Regions from separate parts of the Homo sapiens genome. Here regions 1 and 3 are each linked to region 2. Evidence: promoter capture Hi-C in 16 types of primary human blood cells and fetal thymus (Javierre and others, 2016). All regions are on one chromosome and are shown on one strand. Each heading gives the region's core, a stretch centred on a gene start or on the middle of the fragment in contact. The rest is flanking DNA. Distances are from core to core; before and after follow the strand shown. Region 1 holds the start of HTR2A-AS1 (HTR2A antisense RNA 1). Region 2 holds the start of NUDT15 (nudix hydrolase 15). Region 3 holds the start of HTR2A (5-hydroxytryptamine receptor 2A).

Region 1 (3,244 bases), core at 737-3,236, 1.2 Mb after region 2:
TGCTGGTCCCCCTGCTATTTGATAATATTCCAAAGCAAAATACCCATGCTACCGATGACTGGGACCCCCCAGCTCAGTCACTTGGGCTAGTTTTTCCTGTAGTCTTTCAGGATTGGAAGTAGAGTGGAGTTGTCAGGTCCTGTTACAAAAGTAGACTAACTGGAACTGTAGACTTTTTTCTTTAAACCTAACAGAAGGAAAAGATTGGTGAATCAAAAACTAGCATAAAAACTGCAAAAAACCTCTGGGAAAATAGACGGTCATGAAGTCCATATATGGGAAAGAAATGTAGCCCAGAAATTTCTAGGCATATGAAAAGCACAACTGTAAAACTAAGATGTTTTAGATGGAGGAGAGCTGAGAGTGACAGCTGAGAGTCGTAGATGCTGCCTTGGAAGAGTGTCCACGCTACCCTGGACAGGGGCCTGCCTGCCCACCCAGTGACCATGGCAGGGCAGAGAAAAAGCAATGTCAGCCCAGTATCTTCTCCAGCCAGTGGGGTGGCTTCAGGAGAGGGCTGGGACTGGGGATCTCAACCTTAGCAGCACATTAGAATCATCTGGGGAGGTTTAAAACAGCCTGATACACTTGGCCTCACCTGGAATGCACAAAATCAGAATCTCTATGGATTCAATTCACTATCAGTATTTAAGGCTGCCAGGTGATTCCAGTGTGCTGCCAACAACCACTGAGAGCACACAGCAAGGGAAGAGAGCAACCTGCTGGCTTCTGAGCTCTTTCTCCTCCCAGCCCAAGGGTTAGGGGATTGGGAGTCAGAGAAGTGGCCCAGGCAGATGAGTATGGAGGTGTCCAGCAAGATGTGGACAGATGGAGGATCTGGGAGCCCACATTTCAATGCTAGAGGCCATCTGCCCTAAGGTCCACCTTCCCCTTCTTCCTAATCAAGATCACCAGGAGGCGCACAGGCTGTAACCCCTTCTCCTGGTGTACGATATTAATCACGGCATCTTATATCCCCTGAAGGGGATATAAAGTCACAAGAAAAAATTTCTAGGCATATGAGAAGCACAAACTCTATAAGATACTGACAACAAGCAGACCAACTTTTACCTAACAATTCAGAATAATGCACTATATTAAGGAGAAAAAGAAAAATCAGATAAGAATTACCAGGAACTTTATAGGAAAAAAAAAAGCCCTAGAACTATTATAGGACAGACAAGACCTAAGTAGATAAAAATATAACATGTTCAAATTATTGAGATAACTTACCTTTGTTAACTGTAGAACTAAGGTGTTCATTTTCCACCAGATTATCTACAGTTTCAACAGTTTTAATCCAAAAGTTAAAATTTTTTGAGGAGCATGACTAAGTGATTTTAAAATGTTTATGGGAAAACAAAAGTTCATTACACCCATAGCTTGTATGTGGACAGGCCAAGGAAAGAAATCAGGGCTTCTGTCTCCCAGTCTGGTGCTAATTTCACCCCACCTGTCTACAGCCGTGAACTGCATTTTAACAGCACATAAAGAAATATACTGCATGCAATGCCGCTCCTCATATCATAGAACAATTATCTTAATCATAGGAAAGCTTAGAAGTTAACACATCAGTCTGAATGGCATCATAGCTCATCGTTTGTCCCTTTGACAAAGAACTTTTGTAGCGAATGCCACTCCAAACACACAGGGGCTAAGGCAAGGCTGTTACCGCAGTGGGAAGAGGGTAGCACTCTGTGTAAGCAGACGTGGCCAGCCCAGCCGAGAGAGCCCCCCTTTGCTGACTACCTCCAAGAACGTGGACACCTACAGTGCCGCCCAAGCGCCAGAGCGAGTCCCGGCAATGTGTGCCAGCTCCTTAGTGCTGCTGTAGCAATGACTACAAACTGAAATGACACCTCTGCTGTTGGCTTAAAACAACACAAATTTATTACTTACAGTTTTGGAAGTGAAAAGTCCAAAGTTGGTCTCACCAGGCCAAAACCAAGGTGTCAGTAGGGCTGCGTTCTTTCTGGAGGCACTAGGGAAAAAATATGTCACTGGCCCCTCCAGCTTCTAGAAACCACCTACACTCCTTGGCCCACGGTCCTTTTCCTGTTATCTTCCAAGGTAGCCAGTACAGATTGAATCCTGCTCTTATTGAATCACTTTGACCCAACACACCTTCCTCCCTCTTCCACTTTTAAGGAAATCTGTGATTACATTGGGCCCACCTGGATAATCCAGGGCACTCTAATTATTTCCAGCTCAGCTGATTGACATCTTTAATTCCCATCTGCAACTTTAGTTTATCCTTGCCATATAACACAACATATTCACAGCATCCAGGAGTTAGGCGTAGGCATCTTTGGGGACCATTATTCTGCTGATTACAAAATGCATCAGATTCAAACATTTAGCAGGCTAGAGCTAACACCTTCCTTATTACTATCACAAAATGTAGAAAAGCGGTGAATATATCATCGGGAAGTTTGCAGCTTATTTGGCTGGATCCACAACTGCCTTTCATGCCCAGAATGTTGCTAAAAGGAGAGTCTCTCTCCCAGTTACTCTACATCCATCCTGCCCTTGTAAAGCCACCTGGAAAACTGAAGCAATTTTTCAGAAATCCCTGTTTCCATTATATAAATATTCCGTGCGAAAGTGTTCTTTTGGTCTGACTTATTCTAATAAATGCTCCCATTTAACATGCATATGTGTAATCCAGCAAATTAACTTCTCCACAGGATATTAAAGTTAGTGTGTTTTGTGCTGTATGTATCTGTGCATGTACTATGTTTGAACCAGAATATACAATGTATCAAGGAGCTCATTCTTTATCTTTTTCCTGCATTTTCTTATAAACTATTTGGCTGATTAGATTTTTACTGTGACTTTTGTTTCTTATGTCTTTTAAAATTAGAAATTACTGCCATATTCTCTAGAAAAGTACTATCCAGAAGAAATAGAACTATGAAGATATGAAACTGGTTTTACTAGGAAACACACATATACACAGACACATACACACAAGACATAGTGTTTGTACACCCAGGCTCAGTGATTCAGAATCTTTTTTGTGTTGCAGAGTATTGGGATAATTACCTCTTTCCTGAAAAATGTACGTAGTCACATGAACATGAACTTTTGCACTCCTTTTCAAAGGGTTTCTGCCCCATCCTCACCCCCACCCCAGAAATCATCTATAGGTTAATTTGGAGGAAAAACATTCAACATCAGCACAGGTACGGGACACCAATTAGCTGGGAACCATGGAAAGAAAATAAGCATTGTAAGAAATAGC
Region 2 (3,353 bases), core at 616-3,115:
TCAGCCTAGTAGGAGCATTTCCCTTCCAGACTACAAGGGGCCAACTCTGCCCCCCCAAGACAGGTGAGGAACATTCCAAGAGAATCAGTCACAAGATTGGGAGTGACTCAAGAAGGAGATACTCAGTGTGTCACTCCCCTGCTAAAGACATCCTGAGCTGCAGAAACTCACAGGCCTACCCCAGTGCATCAGAAAAGGTGTGCTACAAGGGTGAAAGCTCTTGGGTAAATCTGAAATGTGTCCCTCGGAGTTTCCAGATGCAGATGAATACAGAGGTAGAGCAAGGAAAAAGGGCAGCAGTGGAAATATCATTCCCATTGTGTGTTTCCTTTGGGCCAAGCAGATGCCACAAGAGACTGCTGGGTAATCAAATAGGAGATCCCAGTAGAAAGAAAATGTGGGGTGATGTGCTAAAAGCAAGAGCTAGGAGGTGGGCCAGCATCACAGAAAGCCCGTCACCTATGTCAGGAAAATCTCTGTGGGACTTCCCAACAACTGACAAACATACCCTGAGAAAGCACACATGTGGATATCATGCCCAGAGGACACCAATGGATGGATCAGAGCAGCATCAGTCACCTGAATGGCTTGCTCTCTCTCCTCCTCCAACACACTGGAGAAAGAAGGAAACTCAGAGACAGCCAGGTGAGAAGAGGAGGAGGATACAGAAAAGCAGAACAATGGCTCACACCTCCTTTATGCACTGCAGGGGAGGGATTAGAAACTGGAAGTGACACTGAAGGTTTAAATTGGATTGGACTTTTAAATGCTTGGAAGTGAATCATACTGACCCAAATGTGATTTATTTTTATAACCAAGTGACAAGAAAACTATAGAATTTGCAGGAAACGTCACTGAAGAGGGAAAGAAAAAATCATGTTTGAAGGCAGTGGAAGGAGAAAATAAAACCATTTCCTGTTTGTTCTCCCATCAAATTTAGCCCACTGAGTATGCCAGTTATGTAAAGATCAAATGAAAGTATACATGCAAAGAGCTTGGCATATTATCCAGCCTTTAACAAAAAGCCCATTAGAGCTCAATGTTGGCTATGGTCATTGACCTCACGGGTGGATCACCTGAGGTCAGGAGTTCGAGACCAGCCTGGCCAACATGGCGAAACCCCGTCTCTACTAAAAATACAAAAATTAGCACGGCGTGGTAGCGGGCGCCTGTAATCCCAGCTACCAGGAGGCTGAGACACAAAAATCGCTTGAACCCAGGAGGCGGAGGTTGCAGTGACTGGAGATAGCACCACTGCACTCTGGCCTGGGCTACAGAGCGAGACACAGTCTCAAATCAATCAATCGATCAATCAATCAATCACATGGAAACGGTGCAATGTCTTAGCTGACAATATCGGGCTGCTGGAGGTTTACACACACCTGCTTTCCTCCTTTTGTGTGTAAGCTGTGAGAAACACACCTCACAGACGAACTCCCAACCACCACCCAGCAGGGGCGCAGCCGGAAAGACCCAGCTAGCAAAGACCTCGCCTGACCCAGCACAGCGCCCCCTCCTGGGCGCGATCCTACGTCGCCCAGAAGTCGAGGGGAGGAACCGAGGGAACGCGCAAGAAAGGACGCAGCGTCAGCGCGGACGTTCTCACGCACGGCACACGGAAGCAAGCACGGCGTGAGTTCGTCCCTCTGCGCACGCCCCGGTTTCCTCGCGTCCGCGGCTGCTCACCCGAACTCCAGATGACCTCCAGGGAGTTGGAAACTGCCAGCTCCAACCGAGCCTTTCCTCTTCCCCAGGAGGACGCAACGCGGATGCTTGCAGCTGGTCACCACGACTCCGACTCCGACTCCTGGCCGCCGCCCGCGCGGCTGTGCGCTGGCCGTCATAGCGCGCGGGAGGACGCGCCTGGCAGCGGCAGGAAGTGACGCGCTCACTACCCCGTCCCGCGGCCGCAGCCAATCTCTCCCCGCGAGGGCGGAGGCGCCGAAATCAAAGCGAGAGCGCCTCGGCCTCTCCAGCTGTCCGCGGTGCGTAATGCGTCGCGGAGGGCTATCAGGTTGGGGAATGCCGTGTTTCCTTCCGAAGGGCAGCGTGCCTTAGAGTTTCGCTGTAACTAAAGTCGCTTACAGTTGTGCTTTGAATATTCATCACCCGTCAGCCTATCCACTCCCAGATTCCTGCAAACCATGCATTTACATGTACAAGCCGCCTGCTCTTACCAACCTCGGCACCACTGCACATTCTTTTTTCCGTGAATGACCTCGCCCACCATGGTGCACCCATTTGCCCTGTAGCTCAAATCAGCGTGGTACCAGGATAAGGATAGGTCGTTTAGAAACATCCCATTATAAACAACTATGCTTAAGGTATATTCATAAGTCATGGGAGGAAATAAAGGCTAATTGATAAATCATGCTGGGAAGAGTTAGTTACAAACAGTGGAAAACAGACATTTTCAGATGTTTGCACACCATGCACCATGCAAAATACAAACCAGCTGAATCATAAAAACAAATGACTAGTTACTGGGAGGGTTTTCTCTCTTTCTCATTATTTTTACTTCTACCAAAGTAATGTGCACATACTGGTAATTTTATTTTATTTTAATTTTCACCAAGCTAGCTAATTTTCTTTCTTTTTTTTTTTTTTGTGGAGGTGGGCTGTCGGTCTTTTGTCGAGGCTGATCTCCAACTCCTGTCCTCAAGCAGTCCTTCCACTTGGGCCTACCAGAGTGCTGGGATAACAGGCGTGAACCACTGCGCCTGACCTATAGCTATAATTTTAAGAAGTAAAATGGTGCAAAAACCGCAACAAGAGCAACCTGACCCTCCTACTTTCAGAAACAATCACTTTTAACTCTTTGAACTGTATTTCTGATATTTGCCTACTTATTTCTAAGTAATATGCTTACTCTCCATGTTATACTAAATGGGTATTAAGCTTTTCACAGCATCTCTCCTCACTATCAACATTCACATTCATTACAAAGGTACTTACAATATCTTCTCAAAAAATGGTAGTATATAAAAAGGATAATATATTGAACAATGAGATTAATCCCAGAAATACTAGGTTGGCTTAATATTTGAAAAGCCAATGTAATTCAGCATATTAACAGAGGGAGAAAGGAAATACATATAATCATCTCAATAGATGCAGAAAAAAATTAATAAAATCCGATACTCAGTTGTGATTAAAAAAACTCCACAAAATCTCTGAGCAAACTAGAAATAAAATGAAACTTTAACATGATATATGGCATCTACAAAGACCTACAGCTAACATCATATTTAATGACTGTTTTGAGCTGAATTGTGTCCCCTCAAAATTCCTATGTCGAAGTCCTATCCCCCAGTACCTCAGCATTTGGAGACAGGATCAAGTTAAAATGAAGC
Region 3 (3,328 bases), core at 56-2,555, 1.1 Mb after region 2:
GAAGGTATTATCCCATTTTACAAGTGAGAAGACTGAGCTTTAAAGGGAGCAACTAGATGAGGCGAGGTTCTACTGTTTATGAGTGATAGAGCTAGGATCCAAAACCAAGGAACTCTAAGGTCTGTGTTCTCCGCTGCCTGCTCGCCAGCGTGCATATTTAACGTGGAGGGGTAGGAGGGTGGCAGGCATGGCAGTGAGGGGGGCACTAAGGCACCCACCCAGGAAATAGGTGGCTAGATCTCGACCACAGGGTGCCAGCTGCAGGCTGCAGGAGAGGACATGTGAGAAACACGCATACAGAGGTAGCACCGGAGACGAAGTGGGATCTGGCAGCGAGAATGAAGGAAGAGTCGCGGATAACAGCAGCTGTCTGAAGAGGTGGTGATTCCATCATGCAAGCCAATGGGTAGGAACAAGCACTGAGAGCCGGGCAGGGGGATGCGGAGTGAGGGAAGATGCTGAGGTCAAGGTCTCCCAGGCTACCATGGAAGGAGCCAATGGGCAGCTAGAGATTTAGGTCTGGAACTGAGAGAAATAATCAGCTATGAAGGTACAGACTTGGCCACAAACATATTGAAGGCATGAGAGTGGTTGAATTTGTCCAGGGAGAATGTGAAGAACAGAAGGTGATAGAACTGTAGCAAAACCCAACTATTGAGGAAAATATTTTCATGCCTGCAAAAAGAGAGAGATCGAACTGCCTCCTTTAGAAACCTACTTGGGAAAGGGCTTTCTTTACAAGTAAGGCAAGTTGTCATTACTGGTGGGGGAAAAAAATTGGTACTGCGAAACCAACTTATTTCCTACCACATGTGAGGTTTTGAATAATATCTGGGTGGCATATTTCTGCTGAAGAAAATAAGCCAGTTCAATGGTGTATCTATTAAATAAAAATAGTGCTAATAGTTTATCAGAGTTATCACCACAGACGTGCCTAGCCACCCTGAGCCTATGTGGCCAATGTCAGTAATTCCACTCTGGACACAAACACTGTTGGCTTTGGATGGAAGTGCCGGACACTCACAGCACTCCGAGGACATACTGTTTTCTAGCCTTATTTATGTTCTCTCTTCACCCTTCAGCCTAAAAAATTACCACAGTGCCACTTACCTACCTTAATGGGAATCTGCACAAAAGGCCATTTCTCCAGTTTCTCTCAAAAGCAAAGGAAAACTTCCCAATATTAATATGTAGCAAAAAGAGGGAGAAGAAAAAGCCTGTTTGGTCCGCCCTCCTGGCTGTTGCTACCTTGCAGCTTATGACATACACATAGAGGGAGGTCTGATGAAATGAACGAGACAGTCAGAGAGCTACTCCATTCCCGTGGAAACCAGGAGTCCCTTGGTGCAGACAGCTCTTCCTACTTTCCCATGCAGTTCTTTTGTGCGACTTTGAGGGGCTCGTGAATGATTTCTAAATGTGTGCCTGCTGAGGCGAGCCGCACAGGGAGGGAGGAACCCAGCCGAGCCGTGCCAGAGGAAGCCAACAGGATCCTAGCAGTGCGGGAGCTGGCTCAGCTCTTGCATGCAGTTTTTGAAGTCAGCAAAACAGAAACCAAATTACTATCATATTATGCTGGTGGAAGATCAAGAAGAGGGGACTCTACACCAGTTTAATTACTGTGAGAGATGCAGCGAGTCACAGAATAACAAATGTATCTCATGTGTGGACCCTGAAGACAAATGTAAGTTCTCATGCCGCTATATTTTATTGCTGTGTAATTTTCTTTCCGGTTTGAAATCATGCTTGGCCAACATGTAATCATTTCAATGAGAATTTCCAGGGAGGAAAGTTGTCTGCTAATCTTTACTTAAGACTTTTTTGTTTTCCTTTTATTAGCTAAGCAACATTATAGGAGCTGAAATTCCTGACAGCAGCTGTGGCAATTCAGCTTAAGAATGGCTGAGAACTGTAACCCAAAGTACATCCAATTACTATGGGATTAACACTGGATGTATTTTTAATTGACTTTCTTAATGTAGAATGTGTACATCCCCACTGTTTCTGATTGCATGCTATTTTAATAATACTGTTGCTAAACTAGTACCATCGGCATAACCAACAAAATGAGATATAGTTAAACAAGAGTCCCAGTAGTTATAAAACTTTTCTTCTTTGTCCAGGACATTTATCTTCCCGAGCGCTCAAAAAAAACCCTGCAACCTCTATGCTAAAAGTTCATTCTGCTTTTTTGTCCTCGGTTTGGTGAGAAAATAATAAAACCAAACAGTGGACTCTCCTAAAATTGTGAATGAAGAAAACTTACAGCCACCACAGTTCAGTTCTTTAACTATCATTGTAATAATGGAAGACAAAAATCCAGCCCCGGGAGAACAGCATGTACACCAGCCTCAGTGTTACAGAGTGTGGGTACATCAAGGTGAATGGTGAGCAGAAACTATAACCTGTTAGTCCTTCTACACCTCATCTGCTACAAGTTCTGGCTTAGACATGGATATTCTTTGTGAAGAAAATACTTCTTTGAGCTCAACTACGAACTCCCTAATGCAATTAAATGATGACACCAGGCTCTACAGTAATGACTTTAACTCCGGAGAAGCTAACACTTCTGATGCATTTAACTGGACAGTCGACTCTGAAAATCGAACCAACCTTTCCTGTGAAGGGTGCCTCTCACCGTCGTGTCTCTCCTTACTTCATCTCCAGGAAAAAAACTGGTCTGCTTTACTGACAGCCGTAGTGATTATTCTAACTATTGCTGGAAACATACTCGTCATCATGGCAGTGTCCCTAGAGAAAAAGCTGCAGAATGCCACCAACTATTTCCTGATGTCACTTGCCATAGCTGATATGCTGCTGGGTTTCCTTGTCATGCCCGTGTCCATGTTAACCATCCTGTATGGTGAGTGGCATTAGTTTCCCAGCTATATTCGCACTGGTAATAAAGAGCATGTGCATGCCACCAGCAGATGAGATGGGGCTCAGGGGGCAAACAAACTATAAATAGAAGTCTTTGTTTATAGACTAGAGCCTACTATGTTACTTATATTTTACTCTTAAAATGGGATTTCACATAAAAATCAGACAGTCTATGACCTGTGATCACTGGAGAGTTTTGTGCTTCAAAACGCGTACATCCTGTGTAAAAATGATCATTGGAGAGTTTTGTGCTTCAAAACATGTACATTTAATGTAGAAATTTTTATAAATTACCCCATACAGTCATAAACCAATAACTTACCCATCATTCTGAATCTACTTGATTTTTGCTTCTTTATATTCCCAACCAATATTCCAGCCTTCAGGACAGAACAGTTTTAATCTTTGTCACACAGTTTTCAGCACTTTTAATGGAGTGATAAAGCCT

What was found. The method cuts DNA at HindIII sites, captures the fragments that hold promoters and counts their contacts. A CHiCAGO score of 5 or more calls a contact.
Region 1: a contact is called between the fragment with the promoter of HTR2A-AS1 here and the fragment with the promoter of NUDT15 in region 2, in 8 of 17 cell types (M0 macrophages, M2 macrophages, megakaryocytes and 5 more). The highest score is 21.2, in M0 macrophages.
Region 3: a contact is called between the fragment with the promoter of HTR2A here and the fragment with the promoter of NUDT15 in region 2, in 10 of 17 cell types (megakaryocytes, M1 macrophages, M0 macrophages and 7 more). The highest score is 18.8, in megakaryocytes.

The regions. Positions count from the first base shown.
Region 1 is chr13:46,850,882-46,854,125 of GRCh38, reverse strand. HTR2A-AS1 (HTR2A antisense RNA 1) reads right to left here and starts at 1,986. Exons shown (of 2, transcript NR_103752.1): 1 at 1,900-1,986. The region is part of intron 3 of HTR2A (5-hydroxytryptamine receptor 2A); the gene reads left to right. The HindIII fragment of the contact is 4,589 bases long and covers 1,558-3,244 here.
Region 2 is chr13:48,036,238-48,039,590 of GRCh38, reverse strand. It overlaps NUDT15 (nudix hydrolase 15), which reads right to left and starts at 1,865. Exons shown (of 3, transcript NM_018283.4): 1 at 1,687-1,865. The coding sequence starts at 1,844. LOC124903172 (a long non-coding RNA gene) reads left to right here and starts at 1,599. Exons shown (of 2, transcript XR_007063788.1): 1 at 1,599-1,985. RefSeq lists enhancers at 1,369-1,528, 1,579-1,818, 985-1,860, 1,861-2,737. The HindIII fragment of the contact is 6,950 bases long and covers 1-2,900 here.
Region 3 is chr13:46,895,030-46,898,357 of GRCh38, reverse strand. It overlaps HTR2A (5-hydroxytryptamine receptor 2A), which reads left to right and starts at 1,305. Exons shown (of 4, transcript NM_000621.5): 1 at 1,305-1,684; 2 at 2,124-2,863. The coding sequence starts at 2,452. The HindIII fragment of the contact is 5,377 bases long and covers 1-3,328 here.